2 separate regions of the Homo sapiens genome follow, and region 2 is linked to region 1. The links are contacts of gene promoters, found by promoter capture Hi-C in blood cells and fetal thymus (Javierre and others, 2016). All regions are on one chromosome and are shown on one strand. The core of a region is centred on a gene start or on the middle of the fragment in contact, and the rest is flanking DNA. Distances in the headings are between cores, read along the strand shown.

Evidence for each region. The method cuts DNA at HindIII sites, captures the fragments that hold promoters and counts their contacts. A CHiCAGO score of 5 or more calls a contact.
Region 2: a contact is called between a fragment that was not itself captured here and the fragment with the promoter of S100G in region 1, in 1 of 17 cell types (non-activated CD4 T cells). The highest score is 5.6, in non-activated CD4 T cells.

The regions. Positions count from the first base shown.
Region 1 is chrX:16,647,053-16,651,513 of GRCh38, forward strand. S100G (S100 calcium binding protein G) reads left to right here and starts at 3,106. Exons shown (of 3, transcript NM_004057.3): 1 at 3,106-3,151; 2 at 3,947-4,089. The coding sequence starts at 3,955. The region is part of intron 13 of CTPS2 (CTP synthase 2); the gene reads right to left. The HindIII fragment of the contact is 12,685 bases long and covers 2,901-4,461 here.
Region 2 is chrX:16,454,946-16,459,366 of GRCh38, forward strand. The region is part of intron 1 of LOC124905249 (a long non-coding RNA gene); the gene reads right to left. Among named protein-coding and RNA genes, the nearest start is that of MIR548AM, 170 kb to the right of the region's middle. The HindIII fragment of the contact is 2,825 bases long and covers 1,481-4,305 here.

The DNA.
Region 1 (4,461 bases), core at 1,856-4,355:
GGATTTTTCATGCTTCCAAGTGCAAGTTTACCCTCATGCTTTTAAGTCTATGGGTAAAGAGAAAAATAAGAGACAAGAGATGTGACTGGTAGAAGTGAGCAAGTAAAAACTTAAGAAGCCGCACAGGCTGTTTTTCAAGTTCAAGTTTTGCTAGCATTCGCTACAAGTATAAATTCTGACAATAGGCAGCATTGGGCCCATTCTTTTTTTTTTTTTTTTTTTTTTTTTTTTTGAGACAAAGTTTCGCTCTTATTGCCCAGGCTGGAGTGTAATGGCAGGATCTCAGCTCAACGCAACTTCCACCTCCCGGGTTCAAGCAATTCTCCTGCCTCAGTTTCCCGAGTAGCTGGAATTACAAACATGCACCACCACGCCTGGCTAATTTTTGTATTTTTAGTAGAGATGAGGTTTCTCCATGTTGGTCAGGCTGGTCTCGAACTCCTGACCTCAGGTGATCCGCCCACCTCGGCCTCCCAAAGTGCTGGGATTATAGGCGTGAACCACCGTGCCCGGCCGCATTGGGCTGATTCTAATCAGAAGTTGTCCCTTGAAAGAAGAGATTTGTAGCCTAGAAGACTATTAACCAATACTGCTCCAAAAGTTTTTCTTAGAGATAATTTTTATATATACATACACACGTCATATGTAATATATGGGTGTATTATATAGAACATGTTATCTTTCATCCTATATCGTTACTAAGATGACATATAGTTATTAAAATCATTTCTTCAGATGCAAAAAATAGGCCAGGTGCAGTGGCTCACGCCTGTAATCCCAGCAGTTTGGGAGACTGAGGCGGGCAGATCATTTGAGCCCAGGAGTTGGAGACCATCCTGGGCAACATGGCAAAACCCATGTTGTATTTTTCTACAAGAAATACACAAAATATATATATATGTATCCGGGCATGGTGGCACATGCCTGTAGTCCCAGCTACTCGGGAGGCTGAGGTAGGAGGATCACCTGAGCCCATGGAGGTTGAGGCTGCAGTGAGCTGTGTTCACGCCACTGCACTCCAACCTGAGTGACACAGTGAAGTGGCTTCAAAAAAATAAACAAAAAAACCAGATGCAAAACATAATAAACACCCCATTTGATTTTAGCTCACTAGTGGTAATTTGAGAGAAAAGATGATTTAAGATGCTATTCAACAATTGGAGAGATTTGACGTGGGCTATGATAATGGCATTGTGGTTACATAGGAGAATGTCTTTGTCCTTAGGAGACAGATGCTGAGGTGCTCAGGGGGGAAGCATCTGGATGTTTGTAATTGATTCTCAAATGACTCAGGGGTGGAGGAAAGTATCTGTCCAGAGAAAGAGAAAGCAAATGTGGAGATGTTCGCAATTAGTGAATCTAGTCGAAAGGCAGACTGGTGTTCATTGCACTATTCTTGCCACTTTTCTGTAGATCTGAAATATTTTTTAAAAGATGTTTAAAAAAAGATAGTTCTTGTTATGATTAAGCACAAACGCCTACTTCCTCCCAGGAAAACAGAACATATGTGTAAAAACACTGGCAATTTTCTAAAATCTTGATTAAAATGCATTGCCAAAATCAGAATATTTTTGTGTAAAATCTTATAACTAAAAATAAAATGCCTGTCTTTACTCCAACCAGTGAGTTAATACATATTCTATATTGGTGCATAGCAAAGTCAAAGAATCCATAATAAAAACAAGAAGAATATATACAAGACAGCAAAGACACATGGAATGATAAATGCTCAAGACTGGCGGGAAGCTTTTAAGGAATTCTATTAGATTTCCCATTTGTTCTCCAATGTAAATAAGGCCCTAGAATTTTAGAGCTGAGAAACATCAGGGAGAAATACAGTCCCAATAGTCCAGTCCTCAGTTTGTAGGTGATATAAGGCAGAGTCAGGGAAAATTCTATAAGTGTGGAAGTGTACAAGTGTTTCAAAGCTGTAAAGTGCTCTTAAAATCCACCTGGAACCCCTTCCTGTGAGTTACAATCAGCATTAGATCAATGTCCCTTGGAAATGTCCTACTTATTTCATGGAACTCTTTCCAGTAGAAATCAATCTCCTTGGCAATTTTAAATCATGGCAGTTACAAAAAGTTTGAAGTATTTCCAACTGAACAAGAGTAAGTCGAGTGTTCTCACAAGTTTTTCGAATGATCACGAAATATATTTGGTAAGGAAAAGGATAATGAGAAATAAAAAGCAGACACAGGACCAACAAATAATGAAAGAGCTGAAAAAATGACCATGTTACTCAATATTGATTTGCCAAATAAAACCACAAATTACTGAGTATCTTCTTTCCACTTCTTAAACCTGCTTCTGAAGCAATACTTCCATTCATTCATTCATGTATTCAAATATTTAAGCTGCTAATATGTAAAGACATCAGAAGGACTTCAATGGCCATACCGTAATTTTTTAAACTATGTAATATTGTCCTTCTATGACAGCATTTTTTCTTTTTTACAGACAGGATCTCACTCTGTCACCCAGGCTGGAGTGCAGTGGCACAATCATGGCTCACTGTTGCCTCAACCTCCCAGGCTTAAGGAATCCTCCCACCTCAGCCTCTACAGTAGCTGGGACTACAGGCATGTACCATCACACCTGGCTGATTTTTTAAATTTTTCAGTAGAAATGTCTTGCTGTGTTGACCAGGCTGGTATCAAACTCCTCACCTCAAGCAATCCTCCTGCCTCGGCCTCCCAAAGTGCTGGGATTACAGGCATGAGCTACCGCACAGGGCAGCATTTATTTTTTCTGGATATGAAGAAAGTTATTTTTTAAAGCCTAAATATGCAACTAAATTGAAAAGAATCCTCTATATCTAAGCTTTATGAAATGTGAACTGTGAGCAAATATAATTCTACATTGGAGGGAAAATATAATCTCAGGGGGAAAAAAATCCAAGCTTACGACTCTGAACCATGAAGCAACTGTCGAGATGGACCTTTACTGGATCTTGCCCTTAATTATGGGGTTCATGCAGTCTTAAGCCTGAGTTTCAAAAACCATTAATAATTACCCTTAAATGGCCAACAAAAGGAAATTTTCATAATCAGGGTGGCGTGCCCGTAAAGACTATAAAAGTGTCATGATTCTGCTCAGCTCTTCAAACTCCTCTTTGATTCTTCTAGCTGTTTCACTATTGGGCAACCAGGTTAGTGTGATTTTGGTACTACCTAGAGCTCCTTCTGTTTGCATTAATACTCTGCTTCCTTTTAGAATGGTGTGAAAGATAATGGTCTGGAGAGAAGGTGAGTTTATGCCATCTGGAGATATTCCCTGTAACTTAGAAGCTAGAAGCTGTGGTCAAGTATTCTTCAAGACCACAGCCTGCAGAGTGCAGATCAGGTACATAAAAAGTGTAGAATGTCATTAATTACTAATAAAAATGTTTGGCTCCAGGGACCATCTCCTAACAGATGTACTCTAAGAACAGACATTTAACATACTATCTAAGATGTCTTTTTTTTTTTTTTTTTTTTTTTGCAGCGGAGGCTCGCTCTGTCACCCAGGCTGGAGTGCAGTGGCATCGCACTCACTGCAACCTCCGCCTCCCGGGTTCAAGCGATTCTCCTGCCTCGGTCTTCCAAGTAGATGGGACTATAGGCACGCACCACCACGCCTGGCTAATTTTTGTATAGAGACAGGGTCTCACCATGTTGGCCAGGCTTCCATGGTCTCGAACTCCTGACTTCAAGTGATCCACCCTCCTTGGCCTCCCAAAGTGCTGGGATTACAGGCATGAGCTACCGTGCCTGGCCTAAGATGCTTATTTTTTAAACATGTTAGTAGTTACTGGTGCCATTCCGACCCCGACATTCTCTTTTCCTTATTCTTCCCCATTTATGCCAAGGAAATGGCCCAATGGCACTAAAATCCTGCAGACAACCCTCAGCACAAAACTGTACTTCAGCTTTTTGGTAAGTTTATTTTCTTCCCAATTTATAAGACACCAGAATGAGTACTAAAAAGTCTCCTGAGGAACTGAAGAGGATTTTTGAAAAATATGCAGCCAAAGAAGGTGATCCAGACCAGTTGTCAAAGGATGAACTGAAGCTATTGATTCAGGCTGAATTCCCCAGTTTACTCAAAGTAAGTGGCCATCCGCAGAGCCCACTTAATGGGACTGATGGTGGGAGGGGAGGGAGGGAGGGGAGAGGACTCCGGTAGAGCCTTATAGGGACCGTCGCTTGAGGGAGGACACATGCAGGTGGGGTTTCTTCCCCTTAAGTCAGGCCACATTTCAGAAGGCAAGCTCTCAGAAAACAAGGGCCAAGCCTTCTATCCCTCCTGCAGCCTCAGCACAGGACTCTGCAGGACTAGCCATAATAAATGGAAGCAATGCCAAGTTATGCCTGGAAGACCCACAAGTCACCAAGCAAACCCAATAAGGCCTTCAGCATGGATTCAGTACTTCTGTGCCAGGCTTTAGGAAAACAAAGAGGACTGCAAAATAGTGTTAGC
Region 2 (4,421 bases), core at 1,643-4,142, 190 kb before region 1:
CTCAATATTCTAGGTGACATTAGGCAAAAGAACAACAATGATTCAGCTCCAGTAATTAAAAACAATTGCAATCTTCAGATAATGGGACATTTTAATTCTGTTATGGTAACTTTCTGGTTTTACAACATTTAAATCATTTTTACACCATCCAGATATTTCTAAAACTTGAATCCAGTTATTGACAACAGACCATTTACATTCTTGTGAATCCTCAAATTGAGAAATACCACAGAAATTATAATTTCCTCCATAACATGCAATAAAAAATAACTGGGTAATTGTAAGTAAGCCTACTGGGCTCTGTGCCTAAGAAAGAAAAACAAAATCTTGTGGTCCTCCTTATCTCTAAAACTCAGGGTCCCACGACCCTCAATCTCTTATTTGTGTCATGCTCCCCCAACACACTCACCATGCTAGCCTGTCCTCTCCCCTCAGCCTGAAGTCCAGCCTGGAGCAAAGCCTGCCTTTGTAGTGCCTAGGTGTAGTGCCTAGGTTCTCTGAAGCTCGCATCCTTTCTTGTTCCTGCCAGCCCTCCCAGGAGCCTGTCTTCCACATTGTCCCTGGTTCTCTTGCCCTCAAATTTAACTTCATTCTCCCCAGATGGTGAAATTCTTCCATTCTGCTCTTCTTGGGAGGTCAGCATTAGGCATTTGAAATAGGAGTGTGCCACACTTCATGGGGCCACTTTGTTGCCTCCACTCTCTCACTGTGTTCATTCCTTTGCCCACCAGCCACAGAGCAAACAATATTCATAGATGTATATTTATATATACACACATGTACATGTGTGTATGTGTTTGTATATAAATATACATATATGTATATATATATATATATATATGTATGTGCATCACTGTGGTCAGTGAAAGAAAATACAGCATCCTTCCTCCCCACAACTTTCCCATCATCTCAACCCATTACTAGTATCTGGTTGTGGCAAAGAGTTGAAAGGAAAAACCACATACAAATAGGAAACTTCATTGTAGTACTACGTATCAACCAGCCAGTCAGTGGTCTTTGAAACCCCAAGACTCCAAAGACACATAATTTAAATGTTTATGGCCCCAAACACTACATTGTCCGTTCCCATTGTATGGGATGTGCAGGATGACACTAACATAAAACTAGTCCCAGAAACTCAAAGCAGGGAGCAAGCCCCTCCCTGCCTCCATTGGCCTTGTCATGCAAGAGAGGGACAATTTGTCCACAGCTTTATTCACTGCCTGTGATTGTTCTGCCTGGAGCTTTGGGATTGCCAGATCAAACTGTAAACTTCTGACATTGCTACCTTGAAAACGAGTGTGGGATTAGGGGAGTGATGGGGGAAGGGAAGGTGAGTGCAAAGAGAGGGAAGGAAGAAGGTACTTTCCTTGACTCAGAGATACTCAAGGATAAAGATTCTTATTGGATTTTTGTGGCTTATAAATGTCACACGAGTTCGTGTGAAAAGACCACCAAACAGGCTTTGTGTGAGCAATAAAGCTTTTTAATCACCTGGGTGCAGTCGGGCTGAATCTGAAAAGAGAGTCAGCAAAGGGTAGTGGGATTATCATTAGTTCTTATAGGTTTGGGATAGGCGGTTGAGTTAGGGGCAATTTTTTACAGGCAGGGGGTGGATCTTACAAAGTACATTCTAAAGGGTGGGGAGAATAATACGAAGTACCTTCTCAAGGGCAAGGGAGGATAATACAAAGTACCTTCTCAAGGGTGGGGAGGGTATATCGTACAAAGTACATTCACAAGGGCAGGGGAATATCACAAAATACATTATTGCAAGGGCAGGGAGGGTGTATTGTCACAAAGTCAATTGATCAGTTAGGGTGGGGCAGGAACAAATCACAATGGTGGAATGTCATCAGTTAAGGCAGGAACTGGCTAGTTTCACTTCTTTTGTGTATCTTCAGTTGCTTCAGGCCATCTGGATGTATACATGCAGGTCACAGGGAATATGATGGCTTAGCTTGGGCTCAGAGGCCTGACAATAATGACCTCAAATAAGTGATTATCCAACCTACAATCAATACCTTCTGAAGCAGCCCATTCTATTTTCTGACAGCTTTAATCATCGGATATGTGAAAATAAGTCTCTAGACCATAAACTCCACAAGGGCATGGATCTTAGGTCATGTTCATAGGTAGGTCTCAAGGGCCTAAACAGTGCCTGGTACAGAGTAGCTGCTCAAAAAATATTTGTCAAATGAATGCCTCCTGGTGGCTTCCCACAATGATTCTATTTCTACTCTAGAAATTTCAAAAGAAATCTGTTTCTTCATTATAACAACCCAACAAACATCTTAAGACAATTGTCATGTTTACCCCTCTTCAAACTCCACTATAATTTTTTTTTCTTTTGCAAGTTAAACATTCCTAGTTCACTCAACTATTTCTTATAGGTTGGATTTCCAGTCCCCACAACAAAGATTTACTGGATGCCTGTTATACAGTCACCAATGGGGAGGGGTGAGGCCATGAAAGAATTCTGGATAGTATCTACTCTATTCATCACAGCCCAGCTCTGTCATCCAACACATTGTCCTAATTTGTCCACCAGAACAGTAATGAAAAGTTTTGGCGAATGGCTGGCAGAAATCCACATGGACAGCATCTACTATTTTTCCCCAATAGAGTTGTCTGGCTACTTTATCCAAGAGGAGGAGGAGGAAAGGAAAGATAAGAAGAAGGAAGGGAGAGAGGGAGGGAGGGAGAAAGGGAAAGGAGGGAAGGAAGGAAGGAAGGAAGGGAGGGAGGGAGGGAAAAGGAAGGAAGGAGGGAGGGAGGGAAGGATGGAGGGAGGGAAGGAAGGAAAGAAGGGAGGGGGGAGGGAGGGATGGAGGGAGGAACGAAGGGAAGGAATAACAGGTGGGAAGGTCCAAATATTAAAAACAAAAACAAAAAACAAATAAACAATGGTGCCCTGGTTTTTCAAGAGAAAGGCTATGAACTTCCCAAACTACAGACTGATGAATTTGATATTGATTCTAAGCCAGAGATCAGCAAATTATTCTCCAAAGTGCCAAATAGCAACTATCAGAGGCTTTTCAGGAAAAAGAAGTGAGGTTAACCTGGCACTACTTCACAACTTCATACCGTGGTTCTCAACTGTGGCTTCATATTGGAATCACTTATGAATCCCCTAGAAATGATGAACTTCTGAGACCCCATCCCAGGGATTCTGATTTCATTAGTCTGGGATATAGGCCGAGCACCAGGATTTTTCAAGGTTCCCCAGTGATTCTAATGTGTAGCCTTGCTAGGCTAATGTGGTCCTTGCTGGCGCTGAGGACCACTGCGTTCATGCAAACTCCTGGGGATCAACACATCTCTTTTTAAGGACTCACAGTCTTTTTTTCTTTTAAGCCTATTCTAGAATATTGCATCTGGCCCTCCATCCATTTTTGAATATCAAGTTGTGTTGGCACACAGCCATGCTCATCCGCATACACATTGTCAGTGTCTGCTTTCACACTCCTGCAGCAGCGTGGAGTCGTTGTGACTGAGACCATGTGACCCACAAGCCTCAAATAGCTACTTACTCTCTGACACTTTTGAGAAAAGTTGGCTGACCTCTGGCTTAGAATCAATATCAAATTCACCAGTCTATAGTTTGGGGAATTCATGGCTTTTCTCTTAAAGAATCAAGGTACCACTGTTTGTTTATATATTTGTCTTTTTTTAAACTTTTAAGTTCAGGGGTACACGCGCAGGTTTGTTATATAGGTAAAAGCATGTCACAGGGGTTTGTTGTACAGATTATTTCATCACCCAGGTACTAAGCCTAATACCCATTAGTGATTTTTCCTGATCCTCTCCTTCCTCTCACCCTCCACGTCCAGTGGGTCCCATTGTCTGTTGTTCCCCCGACGTGTCCATGTGTTCTCATCATTTATCTCCCACTTATAAGTGAGAATATGCAGTGTTTGGTTTTCTATTCCTGTGTTAGTTTGCTAAGGACAATGGCTTCCAGCTCCATCCATGTTCCTGCAAAGGAAATGATCTCATTCTTTTTTATGGCTGCATAGGACCTTCTTACCTGTTACTCTCCTGAACCCTCTCCTACTCCTCATGATTACTTAGAAAGCCTGGCAATAAGGTGATTTTCACAGTATCACTTATCACAACACTGAAGAAGAGATGTAATAGATTTTATTCTGATGTATGAATGTATGTAATAGGAAGCCTTTTAAGATCACCTACAGTAGCATTTCATAATTGTTATATACACGAGGTTATTGACCAGAATGAGCATGTGTTTCATCAGTGTTTACATATTTCCTATCTGAGCATCCCACATACTGTATGCAGCCAAGCTTCCTACTCTACTCTCTGAAGCTGCAAGCTATTAAAACTCAAGATTATGATATATAACAAGTAATATTTGATATATAATGTCTACTATTTAACATACACTGGATGGTACATAA